5 separate regions of the Homo sapiens genome follow, and all the other regions are linked to region 5. Evidence: promoter capture Hi-C in 16 types of primary human blood cells and fetal thymus (Javierre and others, 2016). All regions are on one chromosome and are shown on one strand. The core of a region is centred on a gene start or on the middle of the fragment in contact, and the rest is flanking DNA. Distances in the headings are between cores, read along the strand shown. Region 1 overlaps LOC105376626 (a long non-coding RNA gene). Region 2 overlaps PDHX (pyruvate dehydrogenase complex component X). Region 3 overlaps PDHX (pyruvate dehydrogenase complex component X). Region 4 overlaps PDHX (pyruvate dehydrogenase complex component X). Region 5 holds the start of SLC1A2-AS1 (SLC1A2 antisense RNA 1).

Region 1 (3,446 bases), core at 56-2,555, 260 kb after region 5:
GAAGCTCTGTTTGTCAAAATTTACACACACACAACAACTAAACTATCAATTTTTTTCCACAAGGCTAATGTTGAATTAGAAAAAAATCTTGACATAATCATATGAGATTTACCTCTTCACTGCCCATAATCAATCAGATATTAGAAATTTTTAAACCTTTGAATTGTTTTGGAAATCAACCTAAGTGTCCTATAATGTACTGAACTTTTATTTATTTACTTATTTTAAAATGAGAACTCTAAATTCAATTTAATTTAAAATCAGTTGGAAACCTTTAATTAAAGTATACAATAAATGGAAAGTTCCCAAAGTGTAGCTCTTGAAGATTTTGGAGAACTGCCATTAATAGAAACAAAGCTAGTAAACAAGAAGACACTGAAATATATTCTTATTTGCGAGGCTGAGGCAGGCAGATCATCTGAGGTTGGGAGTTTGAGACCAGCCCAGTCAACATGGTGAAACCTCGTCTCTACTAAAAATACAAAAATCAGCCAGGCATGGTGGTGGGTGCCTGTAGTCCCAGCTACTTGGGAGGCTGAGGCAGGAGAATCACTTGAACCCAGGAGGTGGAGGTTGCAGTGAGCCTAGATCATACCACTGCATTGCAGCCTGGGCGACAGAGCCAGACTCCATCTAAAAAAAAAAAAAAAAAAGTATTCATATTAAATCAAAGTGTTTCTAAACACATAAAATAGTGATCAAATAGTATATGAGATTTTATTAGGAAAATTAGTCATTGAGCTTCAAGTATCTTGACATCTAGGAAGAATATTTTGATGGGCTTCTATTGTTAATTAATTAGATAAATTAGTACTCTGTGCTGGAATAAAGTAAAATTCAGAAAACCTACCATTTTTCAGCATCTAAATTTGATAAAGCACTTAAAACAGAGACAACCTTTTTGCTAAATTTTGTTTTTAAAAATATTTGTGGGGGAGGCGAGGATAGTTAATGTGTACAAAAAAACAAAGAATGAACAAGACCTACTGTTTGAGAGCACAATAGAATGACACTAGTCAATAATAACTTAATTGTACACTTTAAAATAACTTAAAGAGTGTAACTGGATTGTCTATAAAATTGAATTGGATTGAGGGGATGGATTGAGGGGATCATTCTCCATGATGTACACGCTTATTTCACATTGCATGCCTGTATCAAAGTATCTGATGTACCCTGTAAATATATATACCAACTATGTACCCAAAAACATTTAAAAAATTGTCAAAACAGTTACTCTAAGTGGAACAGTATCTGCGAAATATTTAGTTTTATCAATACCAAATACAGAATTGAGAATATTCTCCATCCAGCATAAACTGCCCTGATCTTACCAGTTACCTCAGCATCTGTAAAACTGGATATTTTCTCAATTGAAAAACATACTTTTTGCTACAAAGAAGAGTCAATTGATATATCAATAATTTTAAATTTATTAGTTATAGATTATAACTTTGAAGATCTCAGGAACTTTATTTTTTAAAAAACCACAAAACATTAAAACATACTAAAAAATAGAATCTTCAGAAAAATATTAATGACTCAGTACTAGAGCTAAAAATGGCTCAGAATGAATAGGTGAAGAAAAAAAGATTTTTAGGACAGTGAAACTACTCTGTATGCGTAGATACATGTCATAGTGTATACACGTTATTATACATTTGTCCAAATCCATAGAATGTATAACACCAAGGGTGAATCCTAATGCAAACTATGGACTTTGGGGATAATGATATGTAAATTATTTTGATCAGTTGCAACAAATCCATCATTCTGGTGGGGGATGGTGCCAATGGCGGAGACAATGCCATATGTAGGAGCAGGGGGGATACGGGAAATCTCTACCTTCCACTCAATTTTTCTGTGAACCTAAAACTGCTCTTTTAAAAATCTGCTAAAAAATATTAAAGCATAAAAAAGTGCTAAAGTTATGACCTAATAAATGAATTTGCAGAAATGCAAGCGAGAAAAATTTTATGATCAATCAAGATACCACATTAATAAAGTACTTCTACTTTTTGTATTGTATAAAATTCAGACACTAAAAATAACATTTCTGTAGGTTTATTTTGTTACTTACGTATCACAATTACACATATTACATTTTATAAGTAGTAAAATTTTTTAAAGAAAAAAATAACTAAGAAAGTGATTACAAAACAAGAATAATTTCTGATTATATTATTTTAATGGTCATATAGCCAATATATAGGCGTTTAAATTTTATTACATTAATGTACAAGGATATATAATTTGGCTTATTAGAAATTATTTTTGAAAATATTTTAATACGATAGTTTTTGTCATTACACTAATATAACAAAATCTTTCTCATTTGACAAATATTTCAAAAATATATAACAAATTATTTTAGCATTCCTTCTCCTCTCAAAAGCATGCTGTCACTCTGTTTTTGAAGACAGTTAAAAGAATTCCATTTCTGAACACTGTTAAGAAAAGTGGGGGAGTCCCAGCAGAGTTTTGGGCAAAGGCAATGGAATAAACATGGCATTTCTGAAAAGAGACACTTGCAAAGGCCCAACACTCGCAAAGCATACCAGGCATAATGTAAATAGGAAAAAGAAACTATTCCGTTGATTCAGTTCATTTGTAAAAGGAGTTTTCCCAAGGTAGATCACAAACAAACCAGTCCATGTGAATCACTTGCAGAGCTTTGAACCCTGAACCCAGCATTCTGAGAGTGGGAACCAGAAATGTGCATTTGAAAAGACTCCCCAGGCAATTCTGATGAGGAGCCAGTGAGCCTGCTGAACCAGGTGACTACTGACATCTCTTCTTTGAGTGACTTTCGACCATCCCACAAATGTCTGCTCGACGGTGTCCTGGAAGAGCTGGGTCATGGCTCTCATTACACACTACTCAGCATCATACACCAGGTTGTATCACACATCTCATTCACACTACTGAGCATCATACACCAGGCTGTATCACACTTTGTCCGGACTTCATGAGTCTTCCAGTACAGTGATGGGACGTAGGTTTTCTAGACTTGCCTATGGGCTTCTCCTCTTTCCTAATGAAGCTTCCACTCATCCAAACGTCCTTTGAGGAGGAAATTTATCCAACTCACTCCACTGCAAAAGCTGGAGAACTGACAAGATTCTTCCTGACCACTTCAGTGGCTATGATTATAGGCAGTATTGTGGTTTTCATTTGCAAAATGAGGAATAAAGCTGCAGACATTTCCAGTACTAGAAATGGTCTGTTTGTAGCATGAAGGTGCATATTCATTTCTTTTTCTTTTTTCCTGACCCTTAATCATTTATTACATTTTTCTCCTGTTAAACAAGCTATATAGGCTGAATACAAAGAAGTTTGAAAACACAGAAAGGTAAAAAAATTAAATTAAATTAAGATCATCTGAAATGTTAACTTCAAGAGAAAGTTAACAACTGTGAGCATTCTGGTTTGTATATTCTTGCAGT
Region 2 (3,139 bases), core at 463-2,962, 320 kb after region 5:
TTCTTTGGTACAACATGTATTCTGAGCAATGCTTGTTTTAAGGCAAAATTAAAATAGCAGCCCTGATACCCAAGATTTTCTTCACAAATACAGTGGGCTGGAGGCATTTCCTTCAGCATTTGGAACTGATTTTTCTACCCAGACTTTTAGTGGACATGGTATGGAGCATGTCCTCACCGTGTCAAGAACGTGTGTTGGCTGGGCACAGTGGCTCACGTCTGCATTCCCAGCACTTCGAGAGGCTGAGGTGGGAGGGTCACCTGAGGCCAAGAGCTTGAGACCAGCCTGGGCAACCTAGTGAGAAACCGTCTCTACAAAACTGTTTTAAAAATTTAGCCAGGCATGGTGGCACACCTGTAGTCCCAACTATTTGGGAGGTTGAGGTGATAGGACCACTTCAGCCTAGGAGTTCAAAGCTGCAGTGAGCTATGAATACACCACAGCACCCCAACCTGGGTGACAGAGTGAGAGCCTGTCTCTCTCTTAAAGAAAAAAAAATTCAAAACGTTAAAAAATAAAAAAGTGTGCTAAGATATTTTGGGGACAGCTATGCCAAAGCCTGCAATTTTTCAACCATAGCAGAAGACGACATTAGGCTAAAATTTTTTCCAAAGCTCACCTTAATGATAAACTTAAAATGCAGGCATTTTTAGCAGTATAGAAAAGCAAAAATCCTCAATAATATATGCTTTCAGGATCCATTTTTCTCATGAAATCTTTTGTACTAGTTCTTATTTTGAAGACCAAAGGCTGATGCCTTTCTCGTGGAGAGTTAAGGAATAAAGGCAGGGAAGAGAAAAGGGTAACAGGGTAGAAAAGATGGCAATAATACTAAAAGCCTAACTCTTTAATACTGCTTCCTTATGGTATTCAGGAGATAATACCATTTTGTTCTTAAGAAATGTTTCATTAATATTATAACTTTCAACTCAGGTTTAAAAAAAGATATTTGCGCATCATATATGTATTAAGCACACATGGAAAGAAAAGGAAGGAAGAAACCTTTATTTCTTTATTTTACTGCTGTCACACTACTGAACACCATATTACCAAATTTAAGAGGCTTTTCTTAGATCCTACCATCCTTGACTTTTCCCACATTTCCCAGGTATCCTCCAACTCAAGGATTTTAACCTCTAGTTTCCCTATTGATGATCTCAATTATAACTATTGCTTTATTATCTACCAAATCTACCTCTCTAATCCCCAACTATCTCCTGAGATACATCTTCATCTCATTGATCCCAATACCTACATGGCTTCTAAGTCCTGACAATAAGCTTCAAACATTACTAACTCCACCAAAACAAATGCTTCCCAAATCCATTATTTCTATTTATGGAGACCAAACTATCATCACCTAGACCAGATCCAAATTCATTCCCTTACTTGTTGCTACTCTGGCCTACACTCCACATTTAATCTGCAAAGGCTTCTGGACTTTATCCTTACAATGTTGTCTGTATCAGGGATCTCCCTTTTAGTTCTTCTAACCACATTCAAGTATTCATTACCTCTTACATGGATTACTTTAGGAGCCTATTAATTTATCTCCTTATCTCATCTTTTTCTGCTCCAGTTTATCTTACACAAATTTGCAGAACTGATCCCCCTAAGGTGCAGCAATCATTATTTTACATTTCACCAAATCCTCAAAGATTAATGAATTAAATACAGACTCTTATTCCTAATCCTCAGAATTATGAGCAAGGCAAATCTACTTTGTTATAAAAATAGTTGCTTTCTCCCATTTTTACAGAGAGTGCTACTAAGGCACAGACTGGTAGAGACTAACAAGATTAAGATACCAACAGTAGACACAAATCAGGATTGGTGTGGGGAAAAAACTGGGATTAACTGGCAACCAAGGTTCTTAATTTTAATTTTTTACAGCTAAGTGTAACTTTTAAATCCTTTAACTAAAAATCCCATGGTCTGGGATGTTGCCTTTCAGTCAGCTCTCAGGACAGCTGATTTCCAACTCATGCAGTGTGGCACGAACTTCACAGTATGTGTGTGATAGAACCACATACATTCAGTTAACAAATTAGTAAGAGTGTAATACACATAAATGAGGATATCTAAGAATTAAATCTATATACTGCTTTCAATAAAATAAACACCCAACAGTAAGCCAAAGCTTTCATGAAGAGTAAAATAACCCAGTGGAAAAAAGAAAACATTGCCTGGCCCAACACTGCCACTTATAATTTAACAACCATTGCTCTCTCTCGACTTACAAAAATTCTGGCCAATATTATTTTTTATTTCCTATCAATATTAGATAAATATGGAATGAGTACATTGCTTTAAAACATAAACTCAATTTGAAACATTTACTATTACTGCCAATAAAAATGTAGCACATAACACTACTGAAATCTTACATTAGTTCATAAGCCTATTTGATTAATCTTTGTCTACCCTACTAGACTAAGTTTCAACAGAACAGGGGCCATCTGTTTTGAAAGACACAAACATTTAAACTAATGGAAAGACACAAACATTTAAACCAGTGTTGCAGAACAGAAAGACCCATCATGATAAAGATGTCAGTTCTCACAAAGTTAATTTAAAATGTGATACAATCCCATAAAAATACCCCTCACTCCTACCCATGGAGCTAGACGAACTGCTTAAAATTCATTTGGAAGAATAATAAAATAAGAATGAACTAAGAAAACTGATTTAAAAAAAGAGCAAAGCTATTGTTATCAGATTTTAAAGCATACAATAAAACATTTCTAATTAAAAGTGTGGTACTAAAAAAGTATGGTACTAACTCATGGACAGATGGATCAGTGAAATAGAAAAGAAAATCTAAAAAGAGACCAAACTGTATATGGAAATTGCTTTATAACAGCACAAGTGAATAAAATTCAAAGGGATAATGAAAATAATTTTTTAAAAATATATTTCCTTGTTTTAGAAATGTAAATGTTATTGCATGATTTCACATATTTAATACTGTATAAAGTTTCACTGTTCTACGCTCTAATTTTCTGCATTTATTACCACTTCTAAGGATCTTGCTTAGTTACCAAATTAGAGCTGTTCTTCAGTAATGCTATAATTATTCAGAAAACAACTCTTGCATAGAATACAATTTACAATGATAAAAGCAATTAAAAGTACAAAA
Region 3 (3,145 bases), core at 522-3,021, 300 kb after region 5:
TAGAAGCAGGTTCAGATATTTTTACTGGTGAATTCTATGAAACTAGAAAATATAAAAAAATTTATAATATTGAAATGTGTACAGAGGAAAGAAAAGAAGAAATAATCCAAATTCATTTAATGAAGCCAATGATTAGGGAAAAAAGGTCTGATAATGTTGGCACAAAATTTAAATTACCACTACTTATGACTCTGGATACAAACATTATCCAATGAAATATTAACGAATAGCTTATGCCCATTAGAGATTTATTTAAGGAGTGCAAAAATGATTCACAATTAATGATATCAATCACAATAATAGTCAATTAATTAAATCATTAATATAATTCAAAATATTTCATCAAAAGAGAAAAGTTATATGAATAATTAGATACTGCTGAAAGGGCATGCTTTTTAAGTTCTGTATTAATGTAATTTTCAGAATACAGAGTGCTAACCATTACACCATGGAACCCTCATTAATGTATTTTTCAAGAAATAAAAAGTTAATTATAAATGTACTTTAAATACAGTCTGTTAACAAGCAGTGATCCCAGAAAATAGCCTCGTTACAGAAAGGAGGCATGATGAAAAATAGTGCCAGGCAGGAAGGCAGGAAGCCTGGGTTCTAGATTTACAACTCCAGCCAGCTAGGTTTACATCACCTCCACTGAACTGCAGGCTCATATGTTCACCTGCCTTCCTGCCACCTCCACTGGAATATCTGTTAGGCTCCTCAAATGTAACATGTCTAAAACCAAACTCTAGATTCCTTAACCCAAAGCTATACCCCTCCCAGTTTTCCCAATCTTAGTACATGGAAAACTCATTCCTCCCATTGCTTGGGCCAAAATGCTTGTTTCTCTTTCTCACACCCCATATCCAATCCATCAGCAAATCCTGTTGGCTCTACTTTTGAAACATAACACAAATCTCCACTTCACCCTAGCTCCATTTGCTACCACATTTGTCCAAGCCACTGTGATCTTCTAAAGCCTCCCAGGGGAGCTCATCGTCTCCTCCCTTGCCTCTCCACAGGCTACATTCTACACAGCACCCAGGGCAGCCTCTCCTTTTCGTTTCTGAAGTATAAGTCAGATCACATTAGTTATTTGTTCAAAACCCTCCAAAGGCTTCCTTCTCACCCATAATAAAATCCCTAGTCCTCACCATGTCCAACAAGGCCTCATGTACTTGGGTTCCCCTTCATGCTCTCCCACTGTTATTTAAATCTTATCTCCCACCTCTCCATACTAGGCACATTCCACCCTCAGCACCACATCTTTGGTTAATGCGATCCTCTGCTTGCAGCCTTGGTGTTTGCTGGTCCCTCTGTGTGGAATGCACTTTTACCACATACCTATGTGGCTCACTCCCTCTGTTTTCTCAGGCCGTATCTAAATTATCGCCTTGTCAGAGGGGCTTCCCTCGCTTCCCTTTTGAAAAATCACCCCTAGTTACTTTGTCCCCTTATCCTTTCTTTTTCTCCTCAGCACTTTCACCATCTGACATATAATAGTGTTTGTCTCCTCCAACTAGAATGTAAGCCCCAGGGACAGCAGAAATCAAGTAAGCTTTTGTTTACTGCTCTATCTCTAATGCCTAGAATAAATGGTTTTCATCCTGCTCTAATTCATTGTGAGCCCTTTTGATTTACAGTTTCTTCATTTGTAAAATGAGGGAGATCAAACGATAGGATATTTTTAGCAAGACAATTATAAAATTTTTGTGATTTAAAAATAAGAGTTCTATTTGTCATTGTAAAAATTCCACGACATGAAACTACTTAAGAAGACAAAATCATTTGAAGTCTGCTACTTACTTTAAGGGTAACAGCTGCTGCCTTGATGATAAAATCATTTACTGATACTTTAATGTCATCTGAAAGAAAAATAAGGTTAGTAAAATTAGTATTCCTAATATAACTTTAACATTGACCATTACAACTTCAAACTTGTAAATTATGGAATGTACTGACAAACAATGATAAAAAATTACAAGCTTTTGTTTGCTTAGTCAATAAGGTTCCCATGATTAGAAAAACTTGCATTATATGAGGTCCTGGATCAATAATATTAACCATGAATGTAAGTTTACTTCTGGGCCTTGGTTATCAATTTTTTAAATTGCTTAGATATCATACACAAGAACCTGAAGGACCCATTACAAGCATAATCAGAAAAAAAGAACTAACTCCTATGTCTCGAAAAAGACAAATGATCTCTCTGTGGTGTGTGCAGTCAGGAAGTTTACAAGATGATTCATTTTCTTCCTCGTTCTTTTCAAATACCCTTATTCTCTGTATGCTTTATAACATACTGATTATACTAGAACAGTGATACATGTAGGTACTTTATATATAAACAGTTATATATACACATATGGGAAAGTGTTCGAAAATTTCTTTTTACTAATGGGGTGTAGGTGAAAAAAAATTTAACTGCTTTTTAACTTAACAAAACAGGATATAACAAAAGCCAAAGATGAAGCAATGCTGGCATAGGTCCTAGTGTGATTAATAAAATGAGGTTCTCCATCCATAGTTTTATGGTGAATGCATTTGAATCAATTTCTTTCCAGTATACATAATGATTTTAAGATAAAGCTGGGGTCCTCCCACTTCCTACGAGCTGATCATAACTAAAGTATTTGTTTATGTCTTTGCATTTGCCACTGGGTATAACAGTGTTAGAAAATGTAAACAACACTTGATTCTTTCTTGCAAGAGCTTATAGAAAAAGACTCTAAGATCTAGATCTAGTCAGTGGTATGTGGCAAAAAACCTATCCTATTACTAAAGTATCACGGAATTTTAGGTGAATAACAGCTCATTCCAAAGGCATCCTGGAGACTACAGAAAGGGATTAGATGAATTACCATAAACCTAAATACTGTCAAACTGTCACGATAACTGTCAGCTGCAAAGTATCAAAGCTCCTCTAATTCAGAATTCCAGAAATATATAAACATTTTTGCTTAAAACCCCTTTAGGAATAGAAATATAAATGGACTTACAGTGCTTACAAGCTTTTAATGATAACCACATAGAAAGATTTGGTTTGTACAAATTCAAATGTAACAGTTCATGAACTTACTCTGCTTACCTTTCATGGCTCTCTCAGCTTTCTCTTCACTTTATCTACTTACCCACAGGTATTCACAGT
Region 4 (3,158 bases), core at 309-2,808, 290 kb after region 5:
CAGCACTTTGCGAGGCCAAGGTGGGTCGACTACTTGAGCCCAGGAGTTTGGGACCAGCCTGAGCAACATGGCAAGACCCTGTCTCTAAAAAAAAAAAATAGAAAAATTAGCCAGGCATGATGGTGCATGCCTTTAGTCCTTAGCTACTCGGGAGGCTGAGGGAGGAGGATCACTTGAGCCTAGGAGGTCGAGGTTGCAGTGATCTGTGATCCCAGCACTGCACTACAGCCTGGGCCACAGAGCAAGACCCCATCTCAAGAAAAAGTAGTAATAATAATAATAATTTCGATTAAAACTGACCTTGGAAATAATGTAACATAAAAATTATTTTGAAAATAGCCTTTGGTTATAATTTTCAGTGTAACTGTTAATATGACAAAAGTTTTGAAGACTATTTTTTTTAAATGGCTTGTTAAACTGAGTTGGATAGTTGGATTAAGCATTTTCTTAACAATTAATACACCAGGGTGCTAATTATTTTAGAAGGCTCTTCTGTTAGGGTTTATAATTCATCATGTCATACCATACAACTTGTACTATATTAGCCTTTCTTCTATTGATTCATGTCAGCTGACACTAACATAAACCTTTTTGTGACAAGTTAATTAAATTACCATTCATTACCATCCAACTTAAATATAGTTATCTTGACAGTTATAGCAGAGCTGCCAAAAGAGAGAAACAAACTCTTCTAAACTTTATAATAATTAGTGAAAATTTCATATTAGTGAAATAAAAAGGATAGTTCTCATCTGTTTGGCTTCATAAGTCTTCTATTCTCTTTCCAAAGTTTTACATTTCCTATCAGTTACTTTCCTAATGTCATACTAATTTTAAATTCCGTCTTTTCTCCTGTAGAGCCCTTTTAAAGGTGTTCTAGAAAAACTACTAATCAACTTCAAGGTTTATTGAACTTTTGTGTTTTAACATTTAAAATACAATAGAAATGTTTATATTTTCTCACATTTTACTGCACAATACAAAACTGATTTAAATGCATTAAGAAACAACATTTTGTTTTTAAATAAACACTAACAAAATGTTTGGCAAGAGATAACACAATTTATTTAAATATATTCCGACTCAAGATGAAGGCAAGCGGTTTACCTAGAAAGGTTTACATATTTTAGCTATAGTTTTTCATTGAACCATTTTTTTGAAATGTCATTCTTTTCATTCATGCTTCTTTTATCCTCTTGCTTTAGAAGTTCACAGTGTTATATAAGTGAAAAACAAGACAGATAGAAACCACCCTAAACATATGGCTTTATGTACATAAAAAATTCAATAATGTTGCCATAACCCCTAATACAGTGTGATCCTTATTTATTTATTATCCAGAATAAACTTCTGTACCTATTAAATTCTTCAAGTATATCTAGAGCAGTGCTTGTAAAAGTGAGGTCCCACTGCTAAGTTAATGGCCATCTCTTTGAAGATCACTTCTACCTTCAACATAATTATGGTACAGTTCTAATAGTTTTTTTAATTTTACATGTATCATACATTCTCAAATATTCCAAAATGCTCAAATGAGCCAAACATATACTTTGATTTACATCTAGTTTAATATTCCCTTTATACAGCACCAGAGGTTAAAAATGGATCTGAGTAACCAAATATTCTCTTTCCTTTATTAGTTAGAGTTTATCATCATTTATTTCTATAACATTAAACCCAAATTGAAGATGAAGACACCCTGGGTCAAATGCTTTCACCTTAAATAAATAAACATTTCATCCACTTCATACTTAAATACCAAGTTGTTTTCCTATAACATATGTTTCTTGGTAACAACTACTGAATCAACTAAGCTGAACACCAACTTCTTATCTTTGAGGACTAGGCAAGTCGGATAGGATTCTCTAGGTTTGCTTTAAAACTTTTAAGAAACCTGGTTGCCAGTTCGTCATCAACCACTCGACTGTCACTTGACATTGTGACTGTTATGAGCTGGCGCTGCTGCAGTTTGGCATTTCCCTCTTCATCCTCAGTGAGCTTCAGCACAGGTCGGAACCTCCCAACCGCCAAAATGCAGGCCTGAGGAGGGTTAATCACTGCAGTAAATTCGTCGATGCCAAACATCCCCAAGTTGGAAATACTAGGGGGAAAAGAAAAAGCTCTGAAGGAGGCATGTCCTTAATCAAAGTCCCCTTTCCGTGAAGCACATATTTTATATATTTTACTAGGCAGTGTAGTAAGGCAAGAAAAAAATATATGAGTAATGAAAAAAGGAAACATTTAGTATTTACAAATAAATTAATTGTGTACACAGGAAAAATGAGACTATAGATAACTAGTAAAATTAATAAGTAAATTTAGTTAAGTCATCAGATAAAAGGTCAATATAACAATCCATTTTATATCGAGTCATGTCCCACATAACGAAGGATCACATATACAACGGTGGTCTTATAAGATTATAATGGAGCTCAGGAATTTCTGCTGCCTAGTGGCATCATAGCTGTCATAACATCATATTGCAATTACTTTATTTTAAAAATAAATTTAGTGTAGCCTAAGTGTGCAGTGTTTATAAAGTCTACAGTAGTGTATAGTGATGTCCTAAGCATTCACTCATTCACTGATTCTTCCAGAGCAACTTCTAGTCTTGCAAGCTCCATTCACGGTAAGTGCCCTAAACAGGTGTACCATGTTTTACTTTTTACATTTTTACTGTACATTTTAAAAATGCTTAGATATGTTTAGATACCCAAATACTCATCATTGTGTCACAACTGCTTACGGTATTCAGTAGAGTAACATGCTGTATAGGTTTGCAGTCTAGGAGCAACTGGCTATATCATACAGCTAAGGTGTGTAGCAGCATGTACCATTTAGGTTTGTGTAAGTACACTCTATGATGTTTGCATGATTTGCGTAAGTACACTCTATGATGTTTGCATGATGAAACTGCCTAACAATGCATTTCTCATATCCCCATCATAAAGTGGCACATGACTCTACATACAAGTTGCTATAATTAGAAAATAAAAATTTAAAACAATACCATTTATAATAGTATCAAAAAACAAATACCAAAGAATAAATCTAATGAAACATATACAAGACCTCTACACAGAAAATTATAAAACATAACTGAAAGAAATCAAATAACTGAATACACAATGGTTTCTACCATATTCACAGGTTAGAAT
Region 5 (3,257 bases), core at 350-2,849:
GGCTACCTCTGGGGCACCCACCACGGGTGTATATACTTCATGCCTGCAGTTTGTTTGGAGGAAAATAGCCAAATCTATCTTCAGGCTGCGCTTCCAAGTAAAATTTTCATTTCTCTCCTTTCACTGCATGTAGGAAAATAGTGATTAGAAATTCTTAGCATTTTTATTAATTCATAGAATTTTCAGTGTAGGGAGGGATCAAGGCCATCAAGGACAAGTGTGGCATTGAAATCAAGCAGACCAGTGTTCAAATCCCAGCAGACCATGTTCAAGCTGTGTGACCTAAGTTTCTCCACCCATCCTATCTGTGTTTTCCTCACGGTGAAAGCAGGTGTTACCATATATGTCCCTTGCAGGGTTACTGTGAGGTTCTGCTCTGATATTGTGTGTCTAGTATCTTAACAGCTTCCAGGAACCCTAGAGAAGTGAGCCAGGGGAGTGGAAGGCCAGGCAAAGCAGAAGGCAATGAGGGATGCAGGGAAAATCACTGCCCAAGAAGCTCTTGCAGGGCTTAGAATTCCACACACAGAGACAGTGCCTACCGGAGGGTGAGGGTATTATTAGGGACAAGAGGGGAAAGCAACTTCCAGGAAGAATTATCTTTCTAAGACTTTGTCTCACACAACCAAAGGATAACCAGATAATGTTAATGTTAACCACAGTGCAAAGGGATGTGCAAGAGTGACTCAGAGCAACTGATGCTGTGTATAAAACAGTCAAGGTCAAGACTGTTGGAACTTGGGGAGTTCCCCTTCCCTGGTGTTCTGTCTGTTTGGGAAACAGTTGAGAATTCCCATCTTCCAGCTTTCAGGGCTTTAGGGAAGTTTTCATTGCAAAGCAGCCTGGTCCTGTCCAGATTTCTTGATAAGAAAAACAATTCACATTCACTGGGCATGGTGGGGGTGGGGGAGTTGCAATGTGCCCAGCCTCTTGTAAGTGCATTTTAATTTATTAGCTCCTGAAAGCTTCTGACCACCCCATGAGAGAGATACCATTACTATCTCCTTTTTACAGATGAGGAAGTCAAGGCACAGGGAGGTTAAGTTGCCTGTAGTCATGTGGTTAAGTGGCAGAGCTGGAATTTGAACTCAGGTTGTTCAACTGCAGAACTTTCACGGCTGAGCACTCCACACTGTACCTCCTGTGACCCAGATGGATTCAAGGAAATTGGAGTGCTCTGAGCCTTGACACCATGGACGGGGAGGGGAAGGGTGTGGTTGGGGGGTCTGTAGATCACACCCAGGGCAAGTGTCTATGCAAGGATGGGCCTAAACCTGGGAATGATGGCAATAGGGGAAAAAACAGCTCAAACCACAGGCTCTCCAGGGGCCTTAATCTTCCAAACGTAAGATTAGGTATATTCAGCAATAAGACCCCAGGATTCTGTGCTTGGTCAACTGATGGCCTGGATTTAGTTGAAACAATTTGAGAGGCTGCCTCTCAGCTCATAAAATTTCTAGTATTTTATAACTACAAAGAAAGCAGTCCCCCTTACCTTTTGGCACCCACAAAAACAACTTGGGAATCCATATTTCCAAAGTACTCTTGGATATTTTGATATGACATTTTGATATGACAGCTTTGTACAAATGGCATCTAGAAAAGAGGAAAAAGAGTCACTGCCCTTTGCCAGACCACAGAGACTCCCTGGTGTCAGGACAGGGCACTTGAACTCCAGATTAACCCTCTCCCAGAGACAAACTTCAAAATGGTGCTGGGTGTGGCCCTGGCATTGCTTGGAAAGAACTGATGAGATGCTTCAGAAAGAAAGCCTTCCTTTCTTTCATTATCATTTCTTGGCATCCCCTTTCTGAATAATGTATTTTCCAGCCCATGGTGAGGCATCCAGGCGCCTGACGCTTAGTGTCATTTGGAATCTGTTGATTTGTTTCCCTGATGTCCAACTCAGTTGGGTCTGGATATTTGCTATTCTGAGTTCTCATGTTAACCTTGGCAATGGCCTTCTTAGACCCTTGCCACATAGTCCAAAAGCCTCTGGTGCTCACAGAGACATAAAAGCGTAAGCAGAAATGAATGCAGTTGTGTTCCCATGGGAGGATTAAGGGTGATTTGTTTTTATCTTTAATATTTCCTTGCCTGCTTTTAGAGCCACGCTTGCCTTATTTGAGCCCTGTGATATATTAGACTAACCGGATAGCATCATGGGAATAAGGCTCCAGTCCATGAATTTATAAGCTTACATCATAGTTGAGCAGTACCCAAATAGGCCTTAATCCTTAATTCCTTGGTCTTAGTACTTTAGATTTCTCTATTCCTTGGTGGAGAGTATGGGGTGGGGGTTGGGGGATGAATTTTATGGCTGCAGGAAAATTAGAGCTTAAAATTGCCAGGGTTGGTTTTGCTAAGATTCTTTCCATTTCCATGACCTGAACTTCTCTGTTCTCATAGCCTCACAGCCACCCTGGCAAGCGTCGGCGCGGCCAGTATCCCCAGTGCCGGGCTGGTCACCATGCTCCTCATTCTGACAGCCGTGGGCCTGCCAACAGAGGACATCAGCCTGCTGGTGGCTGTGGACTGGCTGCTGTAAGTGTCTGTGGATGGGGTTCTGCTGGGACTGTGAGTACTGCCTCCTAGGGATGCACAGGTGGCAAGGTTGCAACCAAGATCTTAGCTAATCCCCATGGCAACTCCCTCACTCTTCCTTCCTCCTTCCCGCTCACATTTACTGAGGACCTATTTGAGAACCAAAGAAGAAAAAGATGAAATATTTGAAGGCGTCACAGTCTAGTGGAGGAATCAGAGAGATTATGACACAAGGTTAAAAGTACAGTAATAAGGAACCAGCTACTGATGCATTCAAAGAATCTCAGAACATTATATTGAATGAATAGAGCCAGAAACAAAGGAGTATGTACTGTATGATTCCATTTATATGAAGCTCTAAGAAAAGACGATGTACCACATATCAATAGAAAGAGATCAGTTGGGGCTGGGTGCGGTGGCTCATGCCTGTAATCCCAGCACTTGTGGAGGCCGAGGCAGGTGGATCATCTGAGGTTAGGAGTTCAAGACCAGCCTGGCCAACATGGTGAGACCCCATCTCTACTAAAAATACAAAAAATTAGCTGGGCGTGGTGGCATGTGCCTATAATCCCAACTACTCAAGAGGCGGAGGCAGGAGAATTGCTTAAACTCGGGAGGCGGAGGTCGCAGTGAGCTGAGACTGTGCCACTGCCCTCTAGCCTAGGGGACAGAGTGCGACTCTGCCTAAGAAAAAAAAAGAAAAAAGAAAGAGA

What was found. The method cuts DNA at HindIII sites, captures the fragments that hold promoters and counts their contacts. A CHiCAGO score of 5 or more calls a contact.
Region 1: a fragment that was not itself captured here is called in contact with the fragment with the promoter of SLC1A2-AS1 in region 5 in 1 of 17 cell types (non-activated CD4 T cells); the score reaches 5.2 in non-activated CD4 T cells.
Region 2: a contact is called between a fragment that was not itself captured here and the fragment with the promoter of SLC1A2-AS1 in region 5, in 5 of 17 cell types (activated CD4 T cells, naive CD4 T cells, total CD8 T cells and 2 more). The highest score is 8.1, in activated CD4 T cells.
Region 3: a contact is called between a fragment that was not itself captured here and the fragment with the promoter of SLC1A2-AS1 in region 5, in 1 of 17 cell types (activated CD4 T cells). The highest score is 5.5, in activated CD4 T cells.
Region 4: a contact is called between a fragment that was not itself captured here and the fragment with the promoter of SLC1A2-AS1 in region 5, in 9 of 17 cell types (M2 macrophages, total CD4 T cells, total CD8 T cells and 6 more). The highest score is 8.6, in M2 macrophages.

The regions. Positions count from the first base shown.
Region 1 is chr11:35,017,395-35,020,840 of GRCh38, reverse strand. LOC105376626 (a long non-coding RNA gene) reads left to right here. Exons shown (of 4, transcript XR_001748180.2): 4 at 2,671-3,446. Among named protein-coding and RNA genes, the nearest start is that of MIR1343, 77 kb to the right of the region's middle. The HindIII fragment of the contact is 3,480 bases long and covers 1-3,045 here.
Region 2 is chr11:34,960,637-34,963,775 of GRCh38, reverse strand. All of the region lies in intron 5 of PDHX (pyruvate dehydrogenase complex component X), which reads right to left. Among named protein-coding and RNA genes, the nearest start is that of MIR1343, 20 kb to the right of the region's middle. The HindIII fragment of the contact is 860 bases long and covers 1,283-2,142 here.
Region 3 is chr11:34,976,841-34,979,985 of GRCh38, reverse strand. It overlaps PDHX (pyruvate dehydrogenase complex component X), which reads right to left. Exons shown (of 11, transcript NM_003477.3): 8 at 1,804-1,862. Among named protein-coding and RNA genes, the nearest start is that of MIR1343, 37 kb to the right of the region's middle. The HindIII fragment of the contact is 427 bases long and covers 1,558-1,984 here.
Region 4 is chr11:34,993,857-34,997,014 of GRCh38, reverse strand. It overlaps PDHX (pyruvate dehydrogenase complex component X), which reads right to left. Exons shown (of 11, transcript NM_003477.3): 11 at 887-2,101. The coding sequence ends at 1,843. Among named protein-coding and RNA genes, the nearest start is that of MIR1343, 54 kb to the right of the region's middle. The HindIII fragment of the contact is 5,121 bases long and covers 1-3,158 here.
Region 5 is chr11:35,280,154-35,283,410 of GRCh38, reverse strand. SLC1A2-AS1 (SLC1A2 antisense RNA 1) reads right to left here and starts at 1,599. Exons shown (of 2, transcript XR_001748185.2): 1 at 1,496-1,599. It overlaps SLC1A2 (solute carrier family 1 member 2), which reads left to right. Exons shown (of 11, transcript NM_004171.4): 9 at 2,410-2,544. The HindIII fragment of the contact is 1,231 bases long and covers 968-2,198 here.